2 separate regions of the Homo sapiens genome follow, and region 2 is linked to region 1. Evidence: promoter capture Hi-C in 16 types of primary human blood cells and fetal thymus (Javierre and others, 2016). All regions are on one chromosome and are shown on one strand. The core of a region is centred on a gene start or on the middle of the fragment in contact, and the rest is flanking DNA. Distances in the headings are between cores, read along the strand shown. Region 1 holds the start of KIF2C (kinesin family member 2C). Region 2 overlaps PTCH2 (patched 2).

Region 1 (6,692 bases), core at 3,469-5,968:
ACATCCCAGGAGAAAGGAATAAGAGTGTAAAGGCAGCAGGGAATTAGGCAGTCACAGAGCAGTAAACTGCCTCATTTGCCAGGGCATAGGATATGTGGAAGAAGAGTATGTGGTACAAAGAAAAAGGGTGATTAGAATCAGAGCTTGAGCCACATGTGGTGGCTCATGCCTGTAATCCCAGCACTTTAGGAGGCCAAGATGGCCAGATCACTTGAGGTCAGGAGTTTGAGACCAGCCTGGTCAACATGGGGAAACCCTGTCTCTACTAAAAATACAAAAATTAGCTGGGTGTGGTGGCAGGTGCCTGTAATCCCAGCTACTTGGGAGACTGAGTGAGGAGAATTGCTTGAACCTGGGGCATGGAGGTTGTAGTGAGCCGAAATCGGCTCACTGAGGGAGATCGTGCCACTGCACTCCAGCCTGGCGATAGAGTGAGACTTTGTCTCAAAAAACAAACAAACAAACAAAAAAAAAAACCAGAGCTTGAAAAGGCTCTGAATGCCCCACTAAGAAGTTCGGATCTTATTCCAAAAGCAGTATTTGATCTGAGGTAAAACAAGGGATATATTTCTAAACAAGCAACAAAAACAAATCACAAAAGACTGATAATAGCTGGTTGAAAGGAATTTTAGGAACCTCTTAATTCTTTAGGGGCAGATAATGGAAAGTATTCAATCCTTTTATTTCTCAAATATACCACCTAAATATCTCTACTATACGTACTATGCTAAGCAAGCTTTTTACATGTTTTATCTTTTTTATTTATTTGTTTTTGAGACAGGGTCTCACTCTGTCACCCAGGCTGGAGTGTAGTGGCTCACTGTAGCCCTGAACTCCTGGGCTCAAGCAATCCTCCTGCCTTAGCCTCTGGAGTAGCTGGGACCACAGGCGCAAGCCACTATGACTGGCTAATTGTTTTTTATTTTTAGTAGAGATGAGGTCTTGCTGTATTTGCCCAGGATGGACTCAAACTCCTGGCCTCAAGAGGTCCTCCTGCCTCAGCCTCCCAAAGTGCTGAGATTACAGGTACTGTGCCCAGCTACATGTATTATTTTATTAAGCTCCATGGAAGAGAGTCCAAGAGTCTGTCTCCTTCACCTCTGTATCCCTAGCACCCAATAAGTGTCTAGCATTTTGGAAGCAGTCCAAAAAATGTGCTGAGTAAATCCTCACAACAACCCTGTGAGGTAGACATTATTATCATCCTCACTTTATAGATGAGGAAACTAAACTTCGAAGAGGGGCAGAAACATGCCTGAGAACACAAAGCAGTGGCAGAGCCAGACTAGAATCCAGGTTTTCATACTCCTAGCCCAGTGACCTTTTCACTACACCACAATGCCACTAGAACAGAAATGTCTTAGTCACAGTGCTCTCCTCAAAATCCTTCCAAGGTTCCCCACTGCCTACAGAAGAAAACCTAACCAGCTCAGTGCCAGACATGAAGACCTTTGTCTCCTTTTTCAGCTGTTTTGCGGCTGCCAAGCATCCTGGGCCCTGCACTGCTCGTGGCCAGCTTCTTCATGGTCCCCATGTGTGCCATCTTGCTGCTTCAGCTAAGCCTTCACACTCCACCCTCTAAGCCCAGCCCATTCTCAGCAAGTTTCCACCTCTGAGCTGCTCTAGCAATGCTCATCTGTGCCATTCATCACAAGTTGTCTTCTGTTAGTTGGTTAGTTGGTGATTCAGAAACGTCTTTTTGTCTCCTCAACCAGGTTATTGATTTCATTCACCAAACTGATATCACAGGTAGTGTGCATGCAGAACCTAGCTTGGGCAAGCAAAGTTTTCTAAAACCTAAAATTCTGTGCAGTTTGTTTTTTTTTTTTTTTTTTTGAGACGAAGTTTCACTCTGTTGCCCAGGCTGGAGTGCAGTGGCATGATCTCAGCTCACTGCAACCTCTGCCTCCCAGGTTCATGTGATCCTCCTGCCCCAGCTTCCCAAGTAGCTGGGATTACAGGCCCGTGCCACCACACCCAGCTAATTTTTGTATTTTTAGTAGAGATGGGGGTTTCGCTATGTTGGCCAGGCTGGTCTCAAACTCCTGATCTCAAGTGATCCGCCCACCTCGGCCTCCCAAAGTGCTGGGATTACAGGCATGAGCCACTGCGCCTGGCTGCAGTTTGCTTTCTACAAACATACCAGAGCCGGGCATGGTGGCTCACGCCTGTAATCCCAGCACTTTGGGAGGCAGAGGCAGGCGGATCACGAGGTCAGGAGATCGAGACCATCCCGGCTAACACAGTGAAACCCCATCTCTACTAAAAATACAAAAAATTAGCCGGGCGTAGTGGCGGGCACCTGTAGTACCAGTTACTCGGGAGGCTGAGGCAGGAGAATGACGTGAACCCGGGAGGCGGAGCTTGCAGTGAGCTGAGATCTCGCCACTGCACTCCAGCCTGGGTGACAGAGTGAGACTCTGTCTCAAAACAAACAAACAAACAAACAAAAAAAACCCAGAAAATTATTGATTGCTTCAATTTAGAATGGACCTGACTAAATAAAATCCCAATGCATCTGGAAGGGGACCATTCTTTTTTTTTTTTTTTTTTTTTTTGAGACAAGTCCTCATTCTGTTGCCCAGGAGGCTGGAGAGCAGTGGTGCAATTTCAGCTCACTGAAACCTGTGCTTTCCCAGACTCCAGCAATTCTCCAGCCTCAGCCTCCAGAGCAGCTGGGACCACAGGCATGCACCACCATGCCCGGCTAATGTTTTTTGTATTTTTTGTAGAAATGAGGTTTTGTCATGTTGCCCAGCCTGGTCTTGAACTGCTGAGCTCAAAGCGATCTGCCCACCTCGGCCTCCCAAAGTGCTGGGATTATACATGTGAGCCACTGTGCCCAGCCAAGAAGACCATTTTTATTTTTTGAGGAAAGGTCTCACTCTGTCGCCCAGGCCAGAGTGCAGTGGCTCGATCATGGTTCAGTGCAGCCTCAACCTCCCAGGCTAAATCAATCCTCCCACCTCAGCTTCCCGAGTAGCTGGAACCACAGGCGTGAGCCACCACACCCTGATAATTTTTAATTTTTTTGTAGAGACAAGGTCTCAACATTTTTCCCAGGCTGGTCTCGAACTCCTGAGCTCAAGCAATCCTCCAGACCAGGCCTCTCAAAGTGTCGGGATTAGAGGCAAGAGCCACCGCACCCAGCCAATTTTTTTTTTTTTTTTTTTTTGAGACAGATTCTCACTGTCACCCAGGCTGGAGTGCAGCGGCACAGTTTCGGCTCACTGCAACCTCCGCCTCCCAGGTTCAAGCAGTTCTCCTGCCTCAGGCTCCCAAGTAGTTGGGATTACAGGCATGCACTACCACGACTGGCTAATTTTTGTATTTTCAGTAGAGACAGGTTTCGCCATGTTGGCCAGGATGGTCTCGAACTCCTGACATCAGGTGATCTGCCCGTCTCAGCCTCCCAAAGTTCTGGGATTACAGGCGTGAGTGAGAAGAGCACAGCATCAGAAACTAGGCTCTCACAGATTCCACTTCTGCACAGATCCTTTATGTAGGAAGACATTAAATGTGGTAGAGGAATTCTCATAGAACCTACCTCTTTGCCCTTTGTGGCACCTCCTTCTGCCCATTCCACTGAAACACAGGATTTCTCCAAGTTCACAGTCCTTACATTGGCACTGTGAATTAAACCTATAAAGTATGAAAAAACCAGAGTTACCCATCTCTTTCCTGAGAGCTTCACTTTTAGGATTCCACAGAGATTCCCAAAGTGGAGTTAACCTGAAGGAACAGGCAGCTACCTTAAAAAAAAAAAAAAAAAAAACTAAGAGAAACAAATAAATCTCCTGGGCTTCACCTTTAGAATATCCACAGTGAGGTGGGCTGGGGACAGGTTTTTAAACTGAGCTGCATGGGATAAGGATTCACCCCTACTCAAGAGAGCCTACAAAAAAAGAGAGATAGAGCCTACAAAAGAGAACATACAAAAGGTATGTTTGAGCACAGGATTCCCCACAACCCTTAGATGAACTTTTCCTCAACATAGCATTGAGGATCTGGCCCTTTTGGGGTTTTCCTAACTCATTTCTGGCGGTCATATCTGTCCATTTCCCTAATGACACGGGTATCAGACCTGCCAGAACTGCGGTACCTGCTTAAGCAAAAGAGAGAACGACTACAAGCTCCTCAAGCGCAGGGTTCTTGTCTGTCCCGTTTACCTGACATACCGCAACTGCGCAATATTTATTCGAGAGTAAAGGGGCCAGGAGACCGAGGTCCCCATAAGAGCAGGGCATTTTCAGGGGAGAATTTTGGAAGGGAAGTGAATTTAGAAGTCCCAACTTCCCTGGGAGGTCTACCAGCCTTGGAGAAGGTCCGCCCACTCCCAGAGGACTGCGAAAGGGACCACGTACAGCGCAGGGACTCTCACCCCTGTGTAGGCAAGAATGACTGCCAGTGCAGAGACCCGGAGTGAGTGCGTGTGAAAAGGAGGGAGGGAGAGAAAGAGAGTGAAAGCCCATCTGTGTGTCCGGGGACGGGCAGTAATTTCAGTCGTCTCACCGCTCACGAGTCCCCTTGACCTAGGGACCCCGCTCCTCACCATTACTGCGTTGGATCTTGATAGCGAGACCGGGAAACAGGCGGGCCTGAAGCGACGAGTCCATGGCCATTCGGAGAGTCAGCAAGGAAGAGAAACGCGCAATACCAAGAAACCTCAATTTCGCTAACCCTACGAAGTCTTAACGCCGCGTAAACCGCCGCAGTTTAAATCCCGCGCGCAAGCGTCCTTAAAACGTCATTCCGCTGTCCCCGCCCTCGCTTCCGCCAGTCAGCGGCGCCCTGCGGAGCCTTGGGGGAGACGCAGTTCCCAACCATCTTCCTACGCTTGGCACCGCCCATGCGTCTGGCCACACCCCCGAGCGCTGTGCCTTCTGGGAACTTCGCCGCTACGTGGGGTCTGGGGCTCCCATTTCTGGTATTGTCCTCGGTCACCTTGTACTGCGGGGTTCCCGAAAACTGGGAAACTTCAGTATGTATTTGACAATGAGGGCTCTGGGATCCTACAGACATGGGTTCGAATCGTAGCTTCTTCAATTGCAAGTTCAGTGACCTCGAGCAAGTTGGAGACTTGGCCGGGCGCGGTGGCTCACTCCTGTTAATCCCAACACTTAGGAAGGGAGAGGTGGGAGTGATCGCTCGAGATCAGAAGTTCGAGACCAGACAGGGCAACATAGCCAAGACCCTGTTCTCAAAGCAAAACAAAACCACAGATTAGAAACTTGACTTAGTTTTTCTTATTAAATAGTGCAGAAGCATGTTGCCTCATTCAAGGAGTTATGTATAAATTTCCAGAAAGACACTGATTCACCAGATATTTATTGAGTGAAGTCTACCACCTGCTAGGCATGGTACCAGGAAATGGAGATAATGAACTAGACACATAGTTCCTGTCCTCCTTTTTTTTTTTTTCCATTTAACCCTTAGTGGACACAGCACATGTTTCAGAGAGCACGGGGTTGGGGGTAAGGTTATAGATTAACAGCATCCCAAGGCAAAAGAATTTTTCTTAGTACAGAACAAAATGGAGTCTCCTATGTCTACTTCTTTCTACACAGACACAGTAACAATCTGATCTCTCTTTCTTTTCCCCACATTTCCCCCTTTTCTATTCGACAAAACCGCCATCGTCATCATGGCCCGTTCTCAATGAGCTATTGGGTACACCTCCCAGATGGGGTGGCGGCGGGGCAGAGGGGCTCCTCACTTCCCAAATGGGGCAGCCGGGCAGAGGCGCCCCCCCCCCCCACCTCCCAGACAGGGCGGCGGCTGGGAGGGGGCTGCCCCCCACCTCCCAGACGGGGCGGCTGGCCGGTCGGGGGCTTTCCCCCCACCTCCTGGACGGGGCGGCTGCCGGGAGGAGACGCTCCTCATCTCCCGGACGGGGCGGCTGCCGGGCAGAGTGGCTCCTCACTTCTCAGACGGGGCGGCCAGTCAGAGACGATCCTCACCTCCCAGACAGGGTGGCGGCGGGGCAGAGACACTCCTCAGTTCCCAGACGGGGTCGCGGCGGGGCAGAGGCGCTCCCCACATCCCAGACGATGGGCGGCCGGGAAGAGACGCTCCTCACTTCCTAGACCGGGTGGCGGCCGAGCAGAGGCTGCAATCTCGGCACTTTGGGAGGCCAAGGCAGGCGGCTGGGAGGTGGAGGTTGTAGCGAGCCGAGATCACGCCACCGCACTCCAGCCTGGGCAACATTGAGCACTGAGTGAGCGAGACTCCGTCTGCAATCCCGGCACCTCGGGAGGCCAGGGCTGGCAGATCACTCGCGGTCAGGAGCTGGAGACCAGCCCGGCCAGCACGGTGAAACCCCATCTCCACCAAAAAATACGAAAACCAGTCAGGTGCGGCGGCGCGCGCCTGCAATCCCAGGCACTCGGCAGGCTGAGGCAGGAGAATCAGGCAGGGAGGCTGCAGTGAGTCGAGATGGCGGCAGTACAGTTCAGCCTCGGCTTGGCATCAGAGGGAGACCGGGGAGAGGGGGAGGGGGAAAGGGAGAGGTTTTTTTTTTTTTTAATTAGAGACAGTGTCTTGCTATGTTGCCCAGGCTGGTCTTGAACTCCTGGGCTCAAAGATCCTCCCTCCTTAACCTCCCAAAGTGCTAGGATTACATGTGTGAACCACCAAGCCCGGCCTCCTGTTCTTGACGATCTGCCTGCCTCAGCCTCCCAAAATGCTGGTAT
Region 2 (6,019 bases), core at 1,309-3,808, 92 kb before region 1:
TCAGATCTCTCTGGGTTCCTTCCTCCTCCCATGCCTCCTTCCTCTCAGCAAACCCACTTACTATGGAGAGCTTATCTCTGTCCTCTTCTTCCCTTCCATGCGGCAGCCTTCGGCCTAATCTTGGTGAAATAAACACTGCAGTACAGGCCTGGCAAAAGAGTGGGGAGTAGGGGAGAGTCGGAGAAGGAGAGGCTGGGCACGGTGGCTCACACCTGTAATCCCAGCACTTTGTGAGGCCGAGGCTGGCAGATCACCTGAGGTCAGCAGTTCAAGATCAGCCTGGCGAACAGGGTGAAACCCCATCTCTACTACTAATAATATAAAAATTAGCCAGGCGTAGTGGCAGGCACCTGTAATCCCAACTACTCGGGAGGCTGAGGCAGGAGAATCGCTTGAACCCGGGAGGCAGAGGTTGCAGTGAGCCGAGATTGCACCATTGCACTCCAGCCTGGGCAATAAGAGCGAAACTCAGTCTCAAAAAAAAAAAAAAGGGAAGGAACTGGCAGTGTGGGGAGCAGGACAGGAAGACTGTTTTCATGAGGTGAAGGCCAGGAATGTGACTTTTGGGGCACGAGGGGACATGTGAGCATATGGGTAAGTATGTGTTGGGGGCTACCAAGGATTTGGGGCTTTTGTGAGTGAGAAGATTACATGGGTTTGAAAAAGAGATTGGAGGGCCAGGTGCAGTGACTCACACCTGTAATCCCAGCACTTTAGGAGGCTGGGGTGGGAGGATCGCTTGAGCCCAGGAATTTAAGACCAACTTGGGGCCGGGTGCGGTGGCTCACTCCTGTAATCCCAGCACTTTGGGAGGCCGTGAAACCCCACCTGTACTAAAAATGCAAAAAATTAGCTGGCCATGGTGGCAGGTGCTTGTAATCCCAGCTACTCGGAAGGCTGAGGCACGAGAATCGCTTGAACCTGGGAGACAGACGTTGCAGTGAGCCACAAAAAAGACCAGCTTGGGCAACATAGTGATGAGACCTCGTCTCTACAAAAAATTTAAAAATTAGCCAGGCCTGGTGGCGGGTGCCTGTGGTCCCAGCCACTTGGGAGGCTGAGGTGGGAGGATCACCTGAGCCCAGGAAGTCGAAGCTATAGTGAGCTATGATCAGGCCACTGCACTCCAGCCTGGGCAATAGAGCAAGACTCTGTCTCAAAAAAAAAAAAAAAAGGAAAAGAGATTGGGAAACATGACGATCTCAGATGGGGCTTGAGTCTCAGAGAAGCAGTACGTTTGGGTCCCAGCAGGCAGCAAAGACTAACAGGAGGAGACCCCCAGACAGGTGGAAACAGCGCAGGGTCTGAGATCAGACCAAATCCGCAAAGCCTCCAGAGGTAGATTTGGCCCTCACTCTTCCCCACATCATAGTTAGGTGATAGCCCCTCACAATGTCCCCACCTCCCCCAGGTCCCAGTTACAGAGCAGGAGCCTGTGGCCAGCATAACGCAGGACTGGAGGGGCGCTAAGATCCAGGACACTATGGCAGGCCTGGCGCCGGGAATCCCTGTGGTCTGGACAGTGAGGGCGGTGAAAAGGATCTGGACACCTCCCTCCCCTTGGCCCACTTTGATTTCACCCCTGCCAGGGTTCGTGAGCTGATTCCATGCACTTTCTGCCTGAGTGGGAGCAGCACACTGAATGACTGTCCCATCCTCCCTCTCCCCCACACCAACACAGGGCCCATTATTATCACCCATTATTATCAGACACTCCTATCCCTGCCCTCTCCTTAGGACACTTTGCAGAAAGGTGTGTGGATATAAATCACTGCCCAGAGCAACCTGAACTAAGAACCAGCCCTAGCCCTACACCTGTTCTTTTAGGAAACCCTCCTAGCAGCAGCCTCCCTATTGGCCCCTATTGGCCCTCCTTGTCCTCCCCACCAGAACAGAGAGGGACTGAGCGAGGGTTCCCTTACCAAGATGCCCCTACAACCCCCACAGCCCACGGCCAGCTCATGCTGATTGTCATTTTTAAGTTTACACCCAAAACCCAGCCAACCTGGTTCATGCTTAAGCCCTAGACCACACAAGAAATCCGCAGAGCCACACAACCGAGGCTTCTCCACTTCCCTGGCAGAGCTCCAGGACCCAGAAGCCTGGGGAGTCGGCCTGGGCCATGACCAGGCCCTCAGGGATAAGGCAGGGACTCCTCTCTGCCGCACCTCTCCCACTTGTCTGGGGAGGCCTCAGAGTTAGAAGCCCCCTTCCCAAGTTCTGACCCGCCTAGGCCCTTTCCCCCCCAGCTTTCTCTGTTTGCTCTGGCAGTGGGCAGCCGGGTGAGCCAGGAGCTGCATTACACCAAGGAGAAGCTGGGGGAGGAGGCTGCATACACCTCTCAGATGCTGATACAGACCGCACGCCAGGAGGGAGAGAACATCCTCACACCCGAAGCACTTGGCCTCCACCTCCAGGCAGCCCTCACTGCCAGTAAAGTCCAAGTATCACTCTATGGGAAGTGAGTCTGGCTGAGCCCCTGAGCAGCTGGGGGCGAGGCGTGCTGTGGGGGTTCTGGAGTGGGAATCCCCTTCTTCTGCTGATCTCCTATGCCCCTGGCTATTGCAGGTCCTGGGATTTGAACAAAATCTGCTACAAGTCAGGAGTTCCCCTTATTGAAAATGGAATGATTGAGCGGGTAAGTGTCCTGAGAGGGAGTAGAGGCAGAACTTTTTCTGTAGCGTGGGAGGACTCAGAGACCGAGCAAGCCCCACAGCCTGCAATCTGCCCCCTTAAAACTAAGGAGGGGGATTGCAGAGGGCATCCTACAAAGGTTGTGGGGCAGGACTGACGTGGCCCGGGGTATCCCTGGCAGATGATTGAGAAGCTGTTTCCGTGCGTGATCCTCACCCCCCTCGACTGCTTCTGGGAGGGAGCCAAACTCCAAGGGGGCTCCGCCTACCTGCCGTGAGTGCCACTCCTGGGGCCCTGCTTCATCTCCCGCTGGGGACTCTCCCAGCAGAAAGGAGGGGTCTGGGGAATGAGGATGATCAAAACCTTACCAAGGTCCTAATTACCTCCCAGGCCAGGAACAGAGAGCATGGGCTTCCCCAAGGCTCTCTCCACATCCTCCTTCTCTTTCCCTCTCAAGGAAGGAAGACCTGACTTATTTACACAAAACTAAACACAAAGATCTGTAAGATCTGAGCAAAGGAGAAAAAGATCCCCACAAAGAGGCTTTGCTGGGGGAAATTACCTAGGTGTTTGCTAAGCCATTGCCCAGGCCAGAAAGAAAACCTGCTACAGGCATGTGCCTGCTGGTTGTATATTAGAACCAAGCACACAGCTTGGTAAGGAACTCAGTGGGGCCTTTCTGGGCCCTTTCTATGTATTAGGTAACCCTGCCCTGATATTCGTCTCAGCCCCTTGTACTCTTCTACAGCTCACTGTAGCACCCTGGTGGGCCCATGCAGCCTGGCAGTTCTGAGAAGCTGAGGCTTGCACACCCTCCATATGGAAGGACAAATCGGCAGATAAGAGGAGGGTGGGGTACAGCATGGCGCCCCAGCAGCAGTTTGGAGCCTGGGTTTTCGTCCCTGACCCTCACCAACTATAGGCTTTTCCCTCAGCGGCCGCCCGGATATCCAGTGGACCAACCTGGATCCAGAGCAGCTGCTGGAGGAGCTGGGTCCCTTTGCCTCCCTTGAGGGCTTCCGGGAGCTGCTAGACAAGGCACAGGTGGGCCAGGCCTACGTGGGGCGGCCCTGTCTGCACCCTGATGACCTCCACTGCCCACCTAGTGCCCCCAACCATCACAGCAGGCAGGTGGGTTCCAACCAGGTCTGCCAGGGAAAGGCTGTTTTCCTTCCCTTTCCCTTCCTCATACTCCTGTGTTCTGGGGGAGCTGACTGCTCTGTGCCCTGACCCCCCACTTCCTGGCCATTATTACCCTGCTCCCACAGTGCCAGGCCCCCAATGTTCCATTCCCATTCAGTTATCCTACGGAGCCCTCAAGTGGTATATATGAATCCCTTTTTCCTTTTCTAAGCCTAGATAAGGCTGGACTTCTTTTTTTTTTTTTTTTTGAGTCTCACTCTGTCACCCAGGCTGGAGTGCAGTAGTTCGATCTTGGCTCACTGCAACCTCGGCTCAAGCAATTCTCCTGCCTTAGCCTCCTGAGTAGCTGGGATTACAGGTGCCCACCACCATGCCCGGCTAATTTTTATTAGCCTCCCAAAGTGCTGGGATTACAGGCGTGAGCCACTGCGCCTGGCCAAGGCTGGACTTTTTATCAAAATAGACTAATACAGGGAAACTAAGAACACAGCAGGTAAGCATGAATATCATACCTGGTTTCCCAGGTTTCTTTGTGGCCCTGCAAATGTGGTACTTTTTTCAGAATCCGCCAGTTACACCAGCTCCTCCCAGAAGCCCTTCCAGGCCTCTGCTTCCCCTTGGGGCTTCCTGTCTGCGGGATACTAGCTGTTCACTCCTGCAGAGCAGTCAAGAGGCTCAGAATAGTTACCTACACTCCAGCCCTACTGAGCTTCATGGCAGCGTGGTTCCTGGAGGTGGAAGCCCAGGGACACTCAGTTATCCACGGCCAGGGCCTTGAGCATTAACCCCTCCTGTTCCCCTCCAGGCTCCCAATGTGGCTCACGAGCTGAGTGGGGGCTGCCATGGCTTCTCCCACAAATTCATGCACTGGCAGGAGGAATTGCTGCTGGGAGGCATGGCCAGAGACCCCCAAGGAGAGCTGCTGAGGTAGGGTCTCCTCTGGGAGTTGGTGAGGGGACTCTGTTCATGAGAACCCATACTGTAATGCCAGGCAGCTCTGGCAAAAGGCCCTTCACATCCCTCACCAGGTGTTTGGGCCAGCTCTGACCCCTGGTTCTCCCACACCCCCACCAGGGCAGAGGCCCTGCAGAGCACCTTCTTGCTGATGAGTCCCCGCCAGCTGTACGAGCATTTCCGGGGTGACTATCAGACACATGACATTGGCTGGAGTGAGGAGCAGGCCAGCACAGTGCTACAAGCCTGGCAGCGGCGCTTTGTGCAGGTCGGTATGGACAAGGACAAGGGGGGTGCCCTGAGGCCATTCCCTCCTCCTGCCCCCTCCTATCCACCCTGTTTCTCCAGCTGGCCCAGGAGGCCCTGCCTGAGAACGCTTCCCAGCAGATCCATGCCTTCTCCTCCACCACCCTGGATGACATCCTGCATGCGTTCTCTGAAGTCAGTGCTGCCCGTGTGGTGGGAGGCTATCTGCTCATGGTGGGTCTTGCACCTGGCACCTTGCCCCCACCCCACCTCCAACCAGTGCCCACCCTGGGAGCCCCTGAGACTGCCCTTTCCCCCCACAGCTGGCCTATGCCTGTGTGACCATGCTGCGGTGGGACTGCGCCCAGTCCCAGGGTTCCGTGGGCCTTGCCGGGGTACTGCTGGTGGCCCTGGCGGTGGCCTCAGGCCTTGGGCTCTGTGCCCTGCTCGGCATCACCTTCAATGCTGCCACTACCCAGGTACGCCAGGACTGCAGGGCAGACTCAGTGCCAGTCACCAGGCTTCACGGGTCCTCAGCTGCCCGCTCCTCTGCCCCTCCAGGTGCTGCCCTTCTTGGCTCTGGGAATCGGCGTGGATGACGTATTCCTGCTGGCGCATGCCTTCACAGAGGCTCTGCCTGGCACCCCTCTCCAGGTGGGGCCTTGTCCCCCAGGGCTCATCTGAGGCAGCTCAGCTTACTGGTTAAGAGCCTCTTGGTTCAAGTGACCTTGGGCTGCTAATGAACCTCGGTGCCTCTTGTCCCCATCTGTAAACAGGGGAAATAATAGTGCTGTGTCCTAAGGGTTATTGTTTGGATCAGTGAGGTAACTCAAGTTGAATGCTTAGAACAGCCCATCATACGTACATGGTACCCAATAAATGCTAGCCACTGTGTTATGACTGCCCCACCTCTGCACCCCAAGTTCCTGAGCCTCCCCTTCACTCCACTTTGACACGGCCCCTCCCTTGTGACCTGAGGGCAGGTCCCCACTCTGTCCTGGCAGGAGCGCATGGGCGAGTGTCTGCAGCGCACGGGCACCAG

What was found. The method cuts DNA at HindIII sites, captures the fragments that hold promoters and counts their contacts. A CHiCAGO score of 5 or more calls a contact.
Region 2: a fragment that was not itself captured here is called in contact with the fragment with the promoter of KIF2C in region 1 in 1 of 17 cell types (total CD8 T cells); the score reaches 5.0 in total CD8 T cells.

The regions. Positions count from the first base shown.
Region 1 is chr1:44,737,863-44,744,554 of GRCh38, reverse strand. It overlaps KIF2C (kinesin family member 2C), which reads right to left and starts at 4,718. Exons shown (of 21, transcript NM_006845.4): 1 at 4,553-4,718; 2 at 3,548-3,642. The coding sequence starts at 4,622. RefSeq lists an enhancer at 4,898-5,067. The HindIII fragment of the contact is 10,096 bases long and covers 739-6,692 here.
Region 2 is chr1:44,828,594-44,834,612 of GRCh38, reverse strand. PTCH2 (patched 2) reads left to right here. Exons shown (of 22, transcript NM_003738.5): 3 at 2,272-2,461; 4 at 2,569-2,638; 5 at 2,816-2,907; 6 at 3,570-3,765; 7 at 4,583-4,704; 8 at 4,852-4,999; 9 at 5,080-5,211; 10 at 5,301-5,456; 11 at 5,539-5,631; 12 at 5,982-6,019. Among named protein-coding and RNA genes, the nearest start is that of PTCH2, 12 kb to the left of the region's middle. The HindIII fragment of the contact is 7,207 bases long and covers 1-6,019 here.